Linked DNA regions of Homo sapiens: regions 1, 3, 4, 5 and 6 are each linked to region 2. Evidence: promoter capture Hi-C in 16 types of primary human blood cells and fetal thymus (Javierre and others, 2016). All regions are on one chromosome and are shown on one strand. Each heading gives the region's core, a stretch centred on a gene start or on the middle of the fragment in contact. The rest is flanking DNA. Distances are from core to core; before and after follow the strand shown. Region 1 overlaps NLGN3 (neuroligin 3). Region 2 holds the start of TAF1 (TATA-box binding protein associated factor 1). Region 3 overlaps OGT (O-linked N-acetylglucosamine (GlcNAc) transferase). Region 4 holds the start of CXCR3 (C-X-C motif chemokine receptor 3). Region 5 holds the start of GCNA (germ cell nuclear acidic peptidase). Region 6 overlaps MED12 (mediator complex subunit 12).

Region 1 (2,931 bases), core at 47-2,546, 210 kb after region 2:
CAGCTCACTTTTGTATTTTTAGTAGAGACAGGGTTTAGTTGCCCAGGCTGGTCTTGAACTCCTGACCTCAGGTGATCCACCCACCTCATCCTTCCAAAGTGCTGGGATTACAGGCGTGAGCCACCACACCCGGCCCTGTAAAATTAAGTGTGTGTGTGCGCACATGCATGTGTGTGCACACACGCATGTGTGCATTGTTCCAGGGGAGAGTCCATAGCTTTCATCAGAATCTCAAAAGGGTCCAAGATGCCCCAAAAGGTTAAGAACTTCTGGTGTAGAAGCTTAAGGATTAGAGCAGCTGAAGGATTGTGAAGTAATCAGCAAATCAGGATATCATACGGAATGCTCACCAGCGACAGCCTTCTGTGCGGCCCACAGTTCCCAACTGACACTGTGGAGACTTCACATCCTACGTGAAATGCCGAGTCTCTCCCCAGATCCTAAGTCTCTCCTTCTGTCTCCTCTCTGCTTCCTCTCCCTGACTCTCTATTATCCTCTCATTTTCTTCTCTTCCTTGCTTTCTCCTCTTTCTCTCCCTCTTTTCCATGCTCTCTTTCTTCATTCCTAGCTGCTCTGAAGCATATTTTTAGTATTCTTTGTATTTTCCAATAAACCTTATAGAATGGAGCATTGTGTTTATATTTTTTTAAGCAGCTGAGCTGAGTGTTTTCTGTCACTCTAAGAAAAGAAAGTAGCAAAATTACTTTTGGCTTTGAACTACCGTGTACATGTGTCTGCATATCTGTTTGTGATCACATTTGCGCGTTCATTCCTCTCTAGAAACTGTGCAGCCCAGCCGGGCGCGGTGGCTCACGCCTGTAATCCCAGCACTTTGGGAGGCCAAGGCAAGTGGATCACTTGAGATCAGGAGTTCCAGACCAGCCTGGCCAACATAGTGAGACCTTGTCTCTACTAAAAATACAAAAATTAGCTGGGTGTGGTGGTGCACACCTGTAATCCATAATCCCAGCTGCTCGGGAGGCTGAGGTGGGAGGATCACTTGAGCCTGGGAGGTCGAGGCTGCGATGAGCCATGATTGCACCACTGCACTCCAGCCTGGGTGACAGAGTGAGACTCTGTCTCAAAAATTAATTAATTAATTAATTAATTAATTAAAAAAAGAAAGTGTGCAGCCCTAGTGTGTGGGTTTCCAGCCACCTTCATGGTACCATGAGATTCAACAGGACAGAACAGCTTACAAGAGCCTCACCATGGTGTCTGAGGTGATGCAGAAAGACAGAGGGGCAGGAGCAGAACCATGACATCCCAACATCCCAAGCCTACCAGACCGTGGGGAGGCCAGCGTGAATGGCCTGCATGCTCCATATTCAGTCTCCCGGGCGCCAATGAAGGGGACACCGACTTTGCTTTTTTAAAGGAGCATCATTTCTGCAGTTTGAACCCCAAAAGAGTATCTTCCTATCTCACATAGTATTAATTGTAAACCAAGAGAAGATTGCCGTTCTGGGCATACAACTGCACCCAGAAGTGAAATGCAGCCCCGGAGCCTCTGAGATTGGAACTGACAAAGCAATATAGTCAAGAGAAAATTAAGGGCCAGGCGTGGTGGCTCATGCCTGTAATCCCAGCACTTTGGGAGGCTGAGGCAGGCAGATCACCTAAGGTCAGGAGTTCGAGACCAGCCTGGCCAACATGGTGAAACCCTGTCTCTACTAAAAATACAAAAATTAGCCTGGCATGGTAGCAGGTGCCTGTAATCCCAGCTACTCAGGAGGCTGAGGCAGGAGAATCAGTTGAACCCGGGAGGCGGAGGTTGCAGTGAGCCAAGATGGTGCCATTGCACTCCAGCCTGGGCGACAGAGTGAGACTCTGCCTCAAAAACAAAATAAAAATAATAAATAAATAAATAAATAAATAAATAAATAAATAAGCAAATTAAAATAAGGCCCTTGAGGTGGGAGGATGATCACTTGAGCTCAGGAGTTCAAAACTGGCCTGGGCAAGAGTGAGACCCTGTCTCAAAAATTAAATGAAAATAAAATCAAATATGGTCGTGTCCCCTAGTTAGCCATGGAATAAGCCACGCCTAACTGCTGGTTTAGCACCCATATGCCTACAGACCTGACCAAGAGCCTACACTCCCGCTGAAACTCTTCCTCCAGGAAGAAGTTGGCTTCTTCATGCCACTACAGGGATGCGGGGCTTGGGGGAGCATGAGCAGGGCCCTGTGTGCTTAGTCACCCTCTCTGAGGCACTCGTTTACCTCAAGACCTTGGCCATAGATAGGCATGGGTGGTCACCAAGGAAGGTACAGGGTTCAAGGGCAGCCTAAATGACTGACACAAGCTTGTGCACAGCAGAGAATGCGGGGGTGGGGAGGTGTATGGGTGCATATGAGGAGGCATTTCGGCAATGAGTGCATATGCATGGGAGTATGTGTGTGATGGGTGGGAGTGTGCAGGGGACATGCTTAGAGTACAAAGAGTGTGTACGTGTGCATATACGGGGTAAGGAAGTGTGGGGAGACTTGGGGGATGCGGTTGGGCCTGGGTAGAGGTGTGTGTGCATGTATGGATACAGATGCAGCCCCATGTACACGGATGTGTATATATTTGTGGGGTGGGGTGAGGGGAGAAGTGCATGGGTGTGTGCTGGGTGTACATATACAGGCTGTATATGGAAGAGTGTGCGCATGTATACGCGTGCATGCATATGTGGATGTGTGTGTGGGGGAATGTATGTGTAGGGGAATGACATAAGGGCAGTGTGTGGGATGTATATAGATGTGGATATGGTGTGTGTGTAGTATCTGTGTATGTGTGGGGTGGGACAGTGTGGACAAACAGGTAAGAGTATATGTGTGTAGGGAAGGGGAATATTTGTTTGTGTTTCTGAGGAGATAGTGAGGGACAGGTGTGTGTGGTAGGTGGATGTGTAAAGTGGATGTGGAAGTAGGGTGTGCAGGGGGAT
Region 2 (2,754 bases), core at 143-2,642:
CAGTCAGCCCAGATCGCCCCACTGCACTCCAACCTCGGAGACAGAGCGAAACTCCGTCTTACACACACAAAAAAGTACATACATAGTAGGTGGCTAGCCTCCTCCCCCGCCTACTCCCCACAACCCAGACTTCACCTTCATCATTTACCAAGGCACCGTCAGTCCCGGTCAATTCTTCATTTGCCGTGAGTTCAGTGATCAGGCTGCCCAGCCCCAAAGCCCCCAAGCCTGCCAAGTGCTTCTTACATTCCTGAAAAAGGGACAGCACGAGTCGAAGATAACAACTAAACCTACGACTCCCACACCACAGGACTTATTTCCCTGGTCCACGACAAAGTCACAAATCCACATGAAAAATGACTGTGCAGTGTGCCAAAACAAGCAACACGTTCGAGAACTGTAATATACATCTACCAAACTCCGCATCGATCAGATCTTTATTAAAGCACCACAGCCAACTGCATCGCCCACACTTTAAAGTATACTACAAGAGAAGACGAATCAAATAACTACTGCCAAGACTGAATGAATGGAACGGTCGTTCTCGGAACGAGGGCCGAGGCAGGGGGATCAGTGGGATTGGAGGCGTCGAGGCGGGGCTCGTTCGGTCCCTGTTTCGCATGCGCCTGCGGCACAGGAGGGGCCACAGCGGCCGACAGCTTCACTCCTCAAGAAAACGGGCCTAAGTGAAGGCAGGGTAGTTTCACTAGGGCGCAGGACACTATTTCACGAAAGTCAGTGAAGACGCTGGGAGAGCCACCTAAAAGGCGCACTGTGACCAGGAGGCCCGCTCGGGTGCTAGGAACACCCCATTGTCCTAAGCCTGAGGCCGGAACCAAACGAGCGGGAGGCAGGTCCTGTCCAGTCCTCTGGCTCTATAGAGCCATCTCAGGGCAGCGATGTCAGAGGGGCAGGCAGTGTCAAGAATCTCCAAGCAGGTTACGGGTGGGAAGCCATCTCAGTAGGCGAAACCAGCATGTGTCCTACTGTCTGGTCGGCAGAGCGCTAGCTCCAAAGCCACTATTCCCTGCGCCCCTGGCCCCGGGCTCGCCTCGCGCTCTCTTCTGCCCACTCTCCCCCAGAACGATCACTCCCACGCCACGTTGCTCCCGCACCCATGAGGACGGGATCCTCCTCCCCGGCGTTAGCTGCGCCCTGTTCTCGCTGCCTGAGCACCCTCTCCTTTCCTCCCCGCACCTCCTTCCTCTGCTTAGCCCCACCCCCCGAGCCCTACCCCCACGCCCACCCCCTCACATCATCCAAGACGCTTTCCCCCTCCAGCTGCCCGGCTCCATTGATGTTGCCGAAAAGGAAACCCGCTAAAGAAAATGGGCCGCCTCCAGCGGAATCTTCGTCGCTGTCCGTGTCTGACATGATGGCGGCAGCAGTGATGGTAGCTGCTGTCCGCAGCAGCAAATCGCAGCCGGGTCCCATAGACCGGAAATAAAACAACAGTCGCCCAGAAGTGACTTACTGAGCTCCCTTACCCTACCAGCCTCTACCGGAAGCTCAAAACAGAGGGGAAAGGGAGGGGGAAGTGGGGAGAGGGGAGGGGGAAGGGGGGGAAAACCCGGAAAGACCGGCTATCCTAAGAGAAAGAAGTAACTACTTTACTAACGGCTTTTGATTCGACGCTACGGGATCAGGAGGATGGATATGTGGAAAGCGGTTGGTCAAAGAAAATATTCAGTCCCGCCCGCTCCCACTGCTCCGCGCGCGAGCTTTCTCACGGCACCGAATTAGAGCAGTGGCTCTTCCTCCAATCAGAAGGAGCTGCTCGAGTCACGTGGCTTACGCGCAGGCAACCTCGGGTTCCTGTACCACAATACCCGGAAGTAAGGGTAAGAGCCGGTCTTTGTGCTGCGTGCAATTTCACCGGTCCGTCCCAAGGAGAGACTTGACGTAAATTATACAGGCATTCCCGAGCTATGCAGGTTACTTGTTTTGAGTTGACATTTTTCCCTAGAAATTGATTTTTTGACCGGACGCGGTGGCTTACGCCTGTAATTCCAGCACTTTGAGAGGCCGAGGTGGGAGGATCGCTTGAGCCCACGAGTATGAGGCCAGCCTGGACAAGAAAGCGAGACTCCATCCATACACAAAATCAAAAAAATTAGCCAGATGTGGTGGCCAGTGCCTGTAGTCCCAGCTGTTGGGGGGTCTGAGGTGGGAGCCAGGAGTTGGAGTCTGCAGTGACCTGTGATCGGGCCACTGCACTCCAGCCCGCCTCAAAAAAAATACTTGTTCCCCCAACGTTTTATTTCGGAAAATGTGAAAGTTTAGTAAAATGAACAGCTGACCCCTCACCTAGACTCACAATGGTTAACATTTTGCTAGGATTTTTGTTTTTCTAAACCATTTATGGGCATCTTGTTCTTCACTCCTAAAAATAAGCATCTTAACTATGGAACCAAAGTACCTTTATCACAACTTTAGGAAGTAAGTCAATATTATTTAAGGAAGAGTCCGCACTTAAATTTCCCCAGTTGTCCTAGTTGGAACATTTTACGGGGTTTCGTCATGTTGCACAGGCTGGTCTCAGACTCCTGGGCTCAAGCAATCTGCCCGTTTCAGCCTCCCAAAGTGCTGGGATTGCAGCCATGAGCCAACACCCCGGCTTTCACCTTGCTTTTTTCACATATTATGATAATATAGACTGAAATAATTTCTTTACCACATCATAGCACTCTTCCTCATTCTCCCTTTTTTCCAATACTAGGATCCATTCACGTTTCATGCATTGTATTTGGTCAT
Region 3 (2,700 bases), core at 138-2,637, 180 kb before region 2:
AGGTACTTAATACCTGATTGTATCTCGTTTTTGTCACTGATAAATGCTTTAACTTTTTTTTTATTTTTTGAGATGGAGTCTTGCTCTGTCGCCCAGGCTGGAATGCAATGGTGCAATCTCAGCTCACTGCAACCTCCACCTCCCAGGTTCAAGAGATTCTCCTGCCTCCGCCTCCTGAGTAGCTGGGATTACAGGCTCCTGCTACCATGCCTGGCTAATTTTTGTATTTTTAGTAGAGATGGGGTTTTGCCATGTTGGCCAGGCTGGTCTCGAACTCCTGACCTCAGGTGATCCACCTGCCATGGCCTCCCGAAGTGCTGGGATTACAGGCGTGAGCCACCAAGCCCGGCCTAATAAATGCTTTCACTATTAATGGTGATATTCTATCATTCCTTCTTCACTTATTAGCTAGAATGCTTTTATAAAGAAAAGCTTCCCCCATCAACTATTGGGTTACTCTATGGTCTAGTTCATACAGGAGAGGGAAGACATATGCTTTATTCTTTTAATTTTTAAATTTAAAGTTGATATATAATTGTGTATATTTATGGCATACAATGTGATGGTTTGATCCACGTATACATTTTAGAAAGAGTCAACCAAGCTAATTAACATAGCCATCACCTCACTAACTTATTTTTTTGTGGTTGAGGACATTAAAAACCTATTCTTTTTGCAATTTTGAAATATACATTATTAACAACTGTGGTCACCATGCAGTACTACAGATCACTAAAACTTATTCCTCCAGTCTAACTGAAACTTTGATCAATATCTCCCTTTTCCCCATCCCTCCTCCACCCCCCCAAGCCTCACCACCCTTCTACTCTCTGTTTCTATGAAATCAACTTTTTTAGATTCCACAAATAGGTGACATAATACAGTATCTACTTTCTGTGCCTGGTTTATTTCACTTAGCATAAAGCACAGATAACAAAAGCAAAAATATGCAATGAGATTGCATCAAACTAAAAAGCTTCTGCACAGTAAAGGAAACAATTACACAGAGTGAATAGGCAACCCCGGATTAGGAGAAAGCATTTGCAAACTATACAACTGATAAAGGGTTAAGAAGCTCAACTCAGTAGCAAATACGCCCATTAAAATACGGGCAAAGGATCTAAACAGACATTTCTCAAAAGAAGAGGTACAGGCCAGACACAGTGGCTCATGTCTGTAATCCTATCACTTGGGGAGACCAAGGTGGGAGGATCACTTGAGCCCAGGAGTTCGAGGTTGCAGTGAGCTATTATGGCGCCACTGCACTCCAGCCTGGGCAACAGAGCAGGACCTCATCTCAAAAAAACAAAACAAAACAAAACAAAAAAAACAAATGGCAAGCAGATATATAAAAAATATGCTCAACATCACTAATCATCAAGGAAATGCAAAATAAAACCATGAGTTAGCATCTCACACTTGTTAGTATAGCTATCATCAAAAGGACGAATAATAACAAGTGTTAGTGAGGATGTAAAGAAAGGGAAGCCTTGTAACTGATGGGGGAAGTATAAATTGGCACAGCCATTTTGGGAACTAGTATAGAGGTTCCTCAAAAACTTTATTCTTCTCTTTTTAACCAGTTTTCCAAATTAATTGTTCCTTGTAAGTCTTCCAAAGATGACCAATGAATTTTTTAGCATAATTATAAGCTCATAGATTTAAACATACTTGATAAGTTTTAGTATATTTCAGTTATTATTCCTATTGATGCTCAAGTCTGCATCTTTAGCCAGTGGGAGCCTCCTCAAGTTGCTTCCTGAGTCCTTTTGATGCAAAGTAATATGTCAAAGCTTCCTTGCTTTCTGGTATGACAAGACATTCCAAAAATTTTTTTTAAATTCCTGCCCCAGACCTGGAATCTGCCTTTTCACCAAGAAGCCCTGCTTCTTTAAAGCCCATTTATAAAAATCATTTTTAATTACTAAAGTACATTTTTTTTGAGACAGGGTCTCACACCATCACCCAGGCTGGAGTGCAGTTGCATGATCACAGCTCACTGCAGACTCAAACTCCCATCTCAGCCTCCCCAGTAGCTGTGTGTGTGTCACCACGCATAGCTACTTTTTGTATTTTTTGTAGAGACAGGGTCTTACTATGTTGCCCAGGCTGGTCTCAAACTACTAGGCTCAAGCAATCCTCCCACCTCAGCCTCGCAAAGTGCTGGATTACAGGTGTGAGCCACAGCACGCAGCCTAAAGTACATTTTCAACACAAAATTGGAAACTGCCATACCATGTACTATCCAGCAAATGCTGCAATAAAGATGTTTCTCAACTTAGGATGGGGTTATGTCCCGATACACCCATCATAAGTTGAAAATATCTTAAGTCAAAATGCATCTGTAACACTTAGTGAACATCCTAGCTTAGCCTAATTTTTTTTTTTTTTTTTTTTTTTTTTTTGAGACAGGGCCTCACTTTGTCACCCAGGCTGGAGTGCAGTGGTGCAATCTTGGTTCACTGCAACCTCCAGCTCCCAGGCCCAAGCAATCCTCCCACCTCAGCCCTACAAATGGCTGGGACTACAGGAGCACACTGCCACACCCAGCTCATTTTTGTAGAGACAGGGTCTCGTTATGTTGTCCAGGCTGGTTTTCAACTCCTAAGCTCAAGCAATCTGCCCGCCTCGGCCTCCCAAAGCACTGGGATCACAGATGTGAGCTATCACACCTGGCCCGGCTAGTCTCATTTTAAACAT
Region 4 (2,906 bases), core at 229-2,728, 250 kb before region 2:
CTTGCCCACTGGTAATGAGAAGAGGGCGACAGGGAGGGGAGAAGAGGGCAAAGGGGAGAGCTGAGGGCAGGTGGGGAGAGGAATTGTTCACCATTCTCTGCCATAAAGTGACTGATGTGCTGTACCAAGGCTGCCTTACAGCTTTTCCTTAAGATCAAGAAGTTCCTATGGCCTCCTCCCCAACCCCATCCTCCTTCTTGCCCGAGAAGCAACTGCTTTTATGAATTTGTGGTATCTCCTGTCCCTGTTTTAAACCTCGAGAACCAACAGTGTTATCCAAAACAACATGGTATTGATTTTGTGGTGGTTTTTAGAGTTTATGTAAGTGGCATCAAACTATACATGGCATTCTGTAACTTGCTTCTTCTACCATGTGATCGTTGGCTTTTCTAGATGCATCCATGTTCAAATGTGTAGCTTTAGTTCATTTGTTTTTAACTGCATGAATATATCATAGCTTATTCACTTAAAAGAAACTGAAGACAGTGTTCATGAGTAGGAAAAGGAGAATCAGACAGCCGTGGGATCAATCCTCACGCCCACCTTTAATTGCCGTGTCTGGCGAAGGCCTGTCCCCTTTCTGAATCATCCATGCAGATAACCCCGCACGTCACAAGTGAGTTGTGTGGTTGAAATAAGGCAGTGTCGGAGAAAGCACCTAAAGCAATGTCTATCACATAGCAAGTTCATTACTGGTAGTTCCCTTTCTTTTTCCCCACTGATTAGCAGGGAGAGGTGGTGGTAAAAAGCTAGATTTAGTGTAACGGCTTTTTAAAAAAATATTTTAATTCCCTTTTTAAGAGACAGGGCCTCACTCTGTCACCAGGCTGGAGTGCAGTGGTACAATTATATCTCAAGGCAGACTTGAACTCCCGGGCTCAAGCAATCCTCCTGTCTCAGGCTTCCAAGTAGTTAGGACTACAGGCACATGCCACCATGCCCGGCTGGCTTTTTTTATTTTTGGTAGAGATGGAGCCTCGCTATGCTGCCCAGGCTGGTCTCAAACTCTTGGCCTTAAGTGATCCTCTTGCCTCAGCCTCCCCAGTAGCTGGGATTACAGGAATGAGCCACTGCACCTAGCTGAAATTTTTAAGAAGGTGGATCTCCTCTGCAGACTTATTTCTCTACCCAGCCTTTACAATCATGCAAAGATCAACTCAAGGCCAGGACAGATGAGTTCCAATCTATGGAGCACTGACCCTACCAGTGCAGGCAGTAGGGTTGCCCTTCACTTCTCAGCTGCATTGCTTCCTCTTCAGACCTCTCTTCTCAAAGGACCTGCCCCCAGCCAGTCATCCTCTGCCCAGCTTTTCTGGTCCCAAGCTTGTAGCCAGCTCCTCCAGAGAGGTTTCACCCAGTCACGGAAACTCTGTGGCCTGAGGTTTAGGGAGGTCTGGTAGAGGTAACTCCCTGGAAGAGGCTGCTGCTGAGAACTGCCTGAAACTCCCACTTCCTCTGTGACTGCAGGTTTCCAACCACAAGCACCAAAGCAGAGGGGCAGGCAGCACACCACCCAGCAGCCAGAGCACCAGCCCAGCCATGGTCCTTGAGGTAAGTGCTGCTGCCCAGCCAGGCCAGGCCAGAATTCGAAGTGGAAAACCCGGGGCATCAGGGGAATGCCAGGGCTGGCCCACAGCCCAGGGTCACCACAGGGTTGGGTGAGTAGCTGGAGGCCGCATGGGTTGTGGCAGAAACAGCACTGGGGAATTGGGAACCCAGCTTGGCCACTGACCCTGGGTGCCTCTCCTCTCCTCTCTGGCTTCGGTGTCTCGTCTGCAAAATGGGGGGGGCGGGGGGCAAGTAGACTCGAAGGCTCCCTTCAGGAGACTTGGAACTTTGACTCTTGGCGTGCTGGACTAAATTGGTACTGGGGAGACCTGCAGGTCCATAGTGCTGGGGGTGAGGGGATAAAGAAGATTCCTTCTCAAGCTAAGTGGGGGATCCCCTTGTGGGCAGCTAAATGGCCGTGCAAGCCTCAGTGTAGGGAGGGGGAAGGACTGGGCAGACTGCATGCATTTGGGGGGCGTGGTGACTTGTAGAGAGGCCACACGGTGGGGGGGGGCGCAGGAAGTTGGGGTCCCCGGACAAGGGCCAAGGAGGGAAGAGGAGGGTTAGTGACTGGAAAAGGGGATTGTGGAGAGGCGCTGGGGAGGAAGGTGGTTGAACTATGTGTTGGGGGTGGGGCACTGAGGACGCAAGGCAAGCCTGAAGGGAGAGCAGGGAGAGAGAGGACAGTGGGCAGAGAGGGCTCTGGGCACTGGAGGGACGCTCTTCTTCCTGCCCAGGGGTCCCTGGGCCGATGGGATCACGCAGAAGAATGCGAGAGAAGCAGCCTTTGAGAAGGGAAGTCACTATCCCAGAGCCCAGGCTGAGCGGATGGAGTTGAGGAAGTACGGCCCTGGAAGACTGGCGGGGACAGTTATAGGAGGAGCTGCTCAGAGTAAATCACAGACTAAATCAGACTCAATCACAAAAGAGTTCCTGCCAGGCCTTTACACAGCCCCTTCCTCCCCGTTCCCGCCCTCACAGGTGAGTGACCACCAAGTGCTAAATGACGCCGAGGTTGCCGCCCTCCTGGAGAACTTCAGCTCTTCCTATGACTATGGAGAAAACGAGAGTGACTCGTGCTGTACCTCCCCGCCCTGCCCACAGGACTTCAGCCTGAACTTCGACCGGGCCTTCCTGCCAGCCCTCTACAGCCTCCTCTTTCTGCTGGGGCTGCTGGGCAACGGCGCGGTGGCAGCCGTGCTGCTGAGCCGGCGGACAGCCCTGAGCAGCACCGACACCTTCCTGCTCCACCTAGCTGTAGCAGACACGCTGCTGGTGCTGACACTGCCGCTCTGGGCAGTGGACGCTGCCGTCCAGTGGGTCTTTGGCTCTGGCCTCTGCAAAGTGGCAGGTGCCCT
Region 5 (3,087 bases), core at 217-2,716, 210 kb before region 2:
GACCAAACAGGCCTTGACCCCTCCCCAACTCCTTCCTCCTATCAGGTCTGGACCCTACCCCCACCATTCTCACCTCAGTCTTCCACCAATCAGGCCTCAACCCCACCACCCTTCCCCCACACTCGCACCTCCAACCACCTCCAGCCACCTTCAACTGCTCCCAACCGGTTTTCCAAGCAGGCTTCCACTCCCCCACACTTCTATCCAACTTCTGCCCTACCCCACTCCTGTCTCCCACCACCACTCAGTCCTCAGCCAAAGAGACCTCAACCCCCACACACACACCCCTACCCACAACCACTAGCTCCCACCTCCCCCCAATGCTGCAACGGGCACCCCCACTTCTCCCCACAGCCACTGGCACCCCCACCTCCAATGCCACCACCAGCATCCTCACTTCTCCCCACGCCCACCAGCACCACCACGTGCTCCTAGGCCACTTCCACCACCACCAAGTGTTCCTACGCCGCCACCAGAACCCCCCACTTCCCTCAACGCCCCCATTGGCACCCCCACCTTCAATGCGGCCACCGGCGCCTCCACTTCTCCCCACACCGCCAGCGCTACTATGTGCTCCTATGCCACCAACGCCACCAAGTACTCCTAGGCCGCAACTGGCACCCCCACCTCCCCCCACGCTGCCACTGGCATCCCTACTTCTCCCCACCCGCCACTAGGGACACCACCTGTTCCTACACCACCACTGGGGCCCCCACCTCCCCCCAGTGCCGCAACCAGCGCCCTCACTTCTCCCCGCGCCGCCACCGGCGCCACGTATTCCTACATAGCCACTGGCGCCACCACACGCTCCTACGCCACCACCAGCGCTCCCACTTCCCCCAAGGCCGCCAATGGTGCCCCTACTTCTCCCCACACCGTCACTGGTGCTACCACATGCTCCTACACCACCACCAGCACCCCCACTTCCCCGACACTGCCACAGGCACCCCCACTTCCCCCAACGCCGCCACTGGTGCCCCTACTTCTCTCCACCCGCCACTGGCACCAACACCTCCTTCTACGCCACCACCAGGCCCCCCACTATCTGCAATGACGCCACCAGCGCCCCTTCTCCCCACGCCGCCACTGGCACTACCAGCTGCTCCTACGCCGCCACCGGCGCCCCCACCCCTCCCAATGCCGCCACTGGCGCCACCATATGTTTCCTACACCACCATGGGCGCCCCCACCTCCCCCAATGCTACCACTGGCGCCTCCACTTCTCCCCTCGCTGCCACTTCCTCTACTCCCACCTCAGGCCTACACGGGCAACCAGAGTCCAAGGTATACAGTGGTCCTGATTTTAATTAAGTCACTCAATTAGGATTAACCTCTGGACCACTTCAGCACCCATCTCAGTCCGACCAGCCGGTCACCTACCTGGTGTTGCAGCCTCTGGCGTGGCCGGCAGCAGCTCACCTCCAACTGCCCGTGGAGTGTGTGCAAAGATCCGGAGCAACTGCGATGAACAACGCCAGGCGCAGGCCCCTTTATAGTGCCCGGACCTAGGGGGCGGTAGCAGTAATTCACGTGTGCTCGCCCGCGCTCCCCTGTACCCACCTATCACAGTGGTCACAAGACAAATTTGAACTTCGCGCCTGTGAACTTGGCGCCTAGCTGTAACGCTTCCGGGATCAGGTCTGTCGCTTTCCACTCCCACGGATGTTGCTTATTTGTCCCAAAACCGCCATTTCAATACTAGAGCGTGGGCACCCGAGGCCAATTCTGCGATTAAAAGTCCCTAACAACTTTCTGATAAAGAGAAACCATGTGAAATCGTTCATAACAAACTTTTATCCTGCGAGAACTTGGATAAGCGAGCCTTGTTCCTTACTTGAATTGTCCAGACCTCTAAGTCCGTTATTGCAACCACTGGGAAAGGGCGCGGGGGGAGGGGCGGGGGCACGAGAACTGGAGCGAAGGCGCGGGAGCAGGGGCGTGGACGGGAACACCGAGGGGAGGGCGGGGCGCGGGGGGACGCGGGAGCGCAGGGGGGCGGGGGTTGCAGGGAAGGCCATCTAGACCCCTAGATAAGAGCAAGGCAGCAACTCAACAGCGCCTGGCAACGGCGAACTATGATGTTTACTTCCAGAACCCTCCAAACCCTGGAGATAAAAAAAGGTTACTTGAGGCTTTTTGGCACTCACTCCATACACACCAAGAAAAACAAACGGGGAAAACAGCGCTTTCTAGATTGTGCCAGTTTCTCCAGCGAGCATCTATATATTTCGTAATGTATGCCTTTGGGTAACAGAACACACATAAAATGTCCCTGCGTTTGATACTATTTTGTGCTAAGCATTATTCCAAGTGTCTTACGACTTAATTCATACAACACTTTAAAAAGTAGGCAACTGTTAGCACTCTCATTTTAGAGATCACACAGCTAGAAAGTGGCAGAGCTGGCCGGGCACAGTGGCTCACGCCTGTAACCCCAGCACTTTGGGAGGCTGAGGCGGGTGGATCACGAAGTCAGGAGCTTGAGACCAGCCTGGTCAACATGGTGAAACCCCGTCTCTACTAAAGATAAAAAAAAAAAAATAGCCGCGTGTGGTGGCCCGCGCCTGTAATCCCAGCTACTCGGGAGGCTGAGGCAGGAGAATCGCTGGAACCTGGGAGGCGGAGGTTGCAGTGAGCCGAGATCGTGCCATTGCACTCCAGCATGGGGACAGGGCGAGACTCCATCTCAAAAAAAAAAAAAAAAGTGGCAGAGCTGAGATTCAAACTCCAACTCTAGTTCCAAAACCTGCTCTTAAGCACCAGATTGCCTACCTAAATACAGATACTTTCTCAGTTGATAAAAAAATTGGATAAAGGGGGCTGATTACTCTCTCTCTCTACAATGAAGTTGCAAATTAACCTCTACAAGCCTCTTTATAAGAATGGGGATTACATAACTGTGCCTCAGAGGCTTGGGCAAAGAACCAGGATGTTAGCTATAATTGAGAGGCATATGCTTCAAGTAAAAGAATGGGATAGGTTTGGAATCAAATCTTAAAATGGGCAGTTCAGAAATTACACACATTTACTCAAGGTGTGCAAGCAACTCCTTTAGATTGAAGGCAGGAGGAGCTGAAGTAGACTGGA
Region 6 (2,918 bases), core at 211-2,710, 230 kb after region 2:
TGGGCTATGTGGCCAGATAAGTATTCTTGATGTCTCCGAAAGTTCTGACCAGTCCCACCACTTTCAGGCACAGGCTTTCCCAAGTCAAATGCTCCCTTATACCTCTGCATCTCTTCCTAGCTCACCACTACTTTGGGTACCTTTGAGTGGAGGTCAGTCCATGTCCATAGGTGGGGGCCTGCTGGTGCACATAGCCACTGGGCCGCTGTTGCAGGTGGCGGGTAGGATCTACAAGAGTAGGATTGGTAGAAGGGTGGGTGCTCTGGTAAGGCTGGCTGGAGTAGCTGGGGGGCACCATGGTACCTGCAGGGCCTGTGTGTTGCTGCAATCCCACATGAGAAACATAAGGAGTATAGCCCTGGAGGGAAGAAGGAGAGAGGGAATCAGGGCCGAGAGTATGCAGAGCAGCTTGCCTCATCCCCCTAGTCTCACAATCCCAGGCTCTTACCTGGGAAGTCTGCAAACCGTAGGAAGAGCTGGGAGTCATCTGATGGACAGATGACTGTCCCAACATGCCCTGACTCTGCTAAAGGGAGAAAAGAGAACAACTCAAACTCAGGAAATGCTTGCTGCCATCTCATCTCTTGTGTCTCCCACCCTGAGTGTCCTTGTGAAGATCCCAAGTGTCTCCTCCGTCCTGTGACCCTCAAAAGCCCCTCTCCCTGACAGCCCTCCCTACTGCCCCTCTCACTATCTTTGCCTGGAGCTGTTGGCGAAGGCGCTGTCCTTGGGGCACCGCAGGTTGCTGCTGCCGGTACACAGAGGTCTTATAAGAGGAGGGTTCTAAACCCATGACGCCAGTCATGGTTGTGGGCAGCACTCCAGGGTAAGTTGGTCGGGTGGGCAGCTTCTGCATTGGTAAGCGCACAGGACGGTATGGGTCCACACGAGGGCCACCTGAAAAGGAGAGTGGGCTGACCTCTAGGCTCCTCATCCCTCTGTCTCTTGCTCAGTGTCCTTGACATCCATAGCTCCTCAGGGGAATGGCATCATCCTTTGGGCAGGGGGAGTGTACAGGTAGGTCCCTCCAGCATTCCTAGTGGCTGGCACTCACCTGCAGGTAGTGGCTGGTTCTGGGTGTACAGGCCTATGGAGCCTTGCCTGTAGTTAAGGTGTGTTATAGAACCAGGGTTTGGGTGGTGCAGGAGGTCCGGAGGCACTGTCACACCATAAGGGCCGCTCCGACCCGGGCCCATTCCATAGTCCTGTGTGAGTGGCAGAGGAAGAGGGTGAGTGGGTTGTAGCTGAATGGGGTCGGGGAGCTGGGGGAGAATGAGGTAAAGAGGAGCTGAATTCGTATATGGTTAATTTTTATTATGATTCTAATGGCACCCCTTCCTTATGCGCCCCCACCCCTCCCACAAACCAGAAACCGGAGCGTCATGAAGTGAGAGGCTGTGGGAGAACTGTCACGGGGGAGGCGCTCACCTCTGTCTTGGTAGCTGGCTGGCTGCGTTTCTTGCCCTTGGTGGACTTCTTCTTGCGTTCCTCAGTACTGGGTGGAGCAGCCCCCGGTTTGTCAGTTTTGGGGGGCTCTGGAGCCTTTTTCTCAGGCTCTAGCAGGGTAGGAGCAGGCGGCTCCTCATCTTCTGGGGGCAGTGGCAGTGGCTCCAGGTAATAGGCGCGGGGCCGGGGCCTCAGGTGTGTGTGGTAGAGCAGCAACCGCTGCTGCTCCTCTCCTCGAGCCACTCGCCGGTCCACTCGGACTGTTCCAAACCAGCCCCAAGAGAGTGGTGCTGACGGCTTCAACCCCTCAAAAAGATCCCAGGGCGAGATCTTCTGTTTGGTGGAAACCTGTAGACCCTGCTCCAGAAAATGAAAAACAATAAGCTGTTGGGACTTAGAAAACAGAAGACTGCAAGCATTTGTAGGAATGGGTAGAAAGAAAGTCATAGGCAGATTCAGGAGAGATGGTAAGAAGCAGACAGACAGACATGGATACACATATACATGCGGAAGAGAGTTATGCGGGGAGAGAGTGAAGGGTGGGGCACAGGGAGAGGTGTGGAGGCACAAGATGAAGCCAGCCCAGACCAGGAGAGGAGATGAACTAACGGGGCGGGGGGCGTGTGGGGAGAGAAGATCGGGAGAGAAAGGGGTTGGGGAGAAAGCCAGAGAGGGAGCGGGGAGGGAGAGGGATTGACATTCAGAGGAAGACAGAAAAAGGAAGGCAGAGAAAGAGAGAGAGGAAGGCAGGGAGAGACTCTGCCTTTAGGCAGGCCGAGAAAGAGTCAGAGAGAGAAAGAAACAGGAAGAGAGAGACAAAAAGGTGGAGAGACAAAGAAAGGCAAACGAGTCAGACAGGGAGAGAGACAGAGACGGAGGAAAAGAGACAGATGGACTAGGAAGACAGATGAAGAGAATGTATATATGAAGGAGTTAGACTTTGGGTTTTAAACTATACACAATAATTATGGTTACTCAACAAATACCGCAACTGACAGAGAGGGAAAAGATAAAAGTGTGCAGAGATGGGTGGGTGTAGGGAAACACAGAAATAAAAGAGATACAGGCTGTCGGCCAGATAGATGGGTGGGGTAGGACATGGGGCAGGTGGAGCAGAGGAAAGAGGAGGGTAGGGTATTGAAAAATGGGTGGTATGTTAAAAGGTGAGGGCAGGGTGAAGGAAAGAGGGTGGGACTTCAAAGATGGAGATGAAATGTAAGGAAAGTTAAGTGATTTGCTCAAAACCCCAGAGATGGTGTTCACCGGCAGAGACTGATGGGCTCCTGAATCTGATGAGTCTGTTGGAGCTACAAAGCTGATGCAGGCAAAGTTCTTGCCCAAAGGGGAAAAAAGGCAAGGGACACGGGCAGACAATGGAACATGCCTCCTTCTTGAAGATGGAATCGAAGCCAGCAATCTTGTTGCCCTTGGTATCGATAAGGGAGCCCTGTGGCTCACACGTGATGACATCT

The links. The method cuts DNA at HindIII sites, captures the fragments that hold promoters and counts their contacts. A CHiCAGO score of 5 or more calls a contact.
Region 1: a fragment that was not itself captured here is called in contact with the fragment with the promoter of TAF1 in region 2 in 1 of 17 cell types (total B cells); the score reaches 5.0 in total B cells.
Region 3: a fragment that was not itself captured here is called in contact with the fragment with the promoter of TAF1 in region 2 in 15 of 17 cell types (total B cells, naive B cells, total CD8 T cells and 12 more); the score reaches 12.2 in total B cells.
Region 4: the fragment with the promoter of CXCR3 here is called in contact with the fragment with the promoter of TAF1 in region 2 in 3 of 17 cell types (total CD8 T cells, activated CD4 T cells and M0 macrophages); the score reaches 5.6 in total CD8 T cells.
Region 5: a contact is called between the fragment with the promoter of GCNA here and the fragment with the promoter of TAF1 in region 2, in 15 of 17 cell types (activated CD4 T cells, naive CD8 T cells, M2 macrophages and 12 more). The highest score is 14.7, in activated CD4 T cells.
Region 6: a contact is called between a fragment that was not itself captured here and the fragment with the promoter of TAF1 in region 2, in 4 of 17 cell types (non-activated CD4 T cells, neutrophils, total B cells and 1 more). The highest score is 6.9, in non-activated CD4 T cells.

Annotation. Positions count from the first base shown.
Region 1 is chrX:71,156,248-71,159,178 of GRCh38, reverse strand. All of the region lies in intron 5 of NLGN3 (neuroligin 3), which reads right to left. Among named protein-coding and RNA genes, the nearest start is that of NLGN3, 13 kb to the right of the region's middle. The HindIII fragment of the contact is 2,026 bases long and covers 284-2,309 here.
Region 2 is chrX:71,364,995-71,367,748 of GRCh38, reverse strand. It overlaps TAF1 (TATA-box binding protein associated factor 1), which reads right to left and starts at 1,392. Exons shown (of 38, transcript NM_004606.5): 1 at 1,255-1,392; 2 at 136-250. The coding sequence starts at 1,374. RefSeq lists enhancers at 87-782, 1,301-1,350, 1,841-1,890, 2,059-2,628 and a silencer at 1,511-1,700. The HindIII fragment of the contact is 14,477 bases long and covers 1-2,754 here.
Region 3 is chrX:71,549,001-71,551,700 of GRCh38, reverse strand. The region is part of intron 5 of OGT (O-linked N-acetylglucosamine (GlcNAc) transferase); the gene reads right to left. Among named protein-coding and RNA genes, the nearest start is that of OGT, 17 kb to the right of the region's middle. The HindIII fragment of the contact is 817 bases long and covers 979-1,795 here.
Region 4 is chrX:71,617,083-71,619,988 of GRCh38, reverse strand. It overlaps CXCR3 (C-X-C motif chemokine receptor 3), which reads left to right and starts at 1,478. Exons shown (of 2, transcript NM_001504.2): 1 at 1,478-1,551; 2 at 2,530-2,906. The coding sequence starts at 1,540. The HindIII fragment of the contact is 3,713 bases long and covers 1,326-2,906 here.
Region 5 is chrX:71,576,816-71,579,902 of GRCh38, reverse strand. It overlaps GCNA (germ cell nuclear acidic peptidase), which reads right to left and starts at 1,466. Exons shown (of 13, transcript NM_052957.5): 1 at 1,381-1,466. RefSeq lists an enhancer at 618-1,259. The HindIII fragment of the contact is 6,206 bases long and covers 1-3,087 here.
Region 6 is chrX:71,135,166-71,138,083 of GRCh38, reverse strand. MED12 (mediator complex subunit 12) reads right to left here. Exons shown (of 45, transcript NM_005120.3): 36 at 2,831-2,918; 37 at 1,429-1,803; 38 at 1,055-1,205; 39 at 701-897; 40 at 449-526; 41 at 141-358. Among named protein-coding and RNA genes, the nearest start is that of NLGN3, 8.2 kb to the left of the region's middle. The HindIII fragment of the contact is 4,663 bases long and covers 1-2,918 here.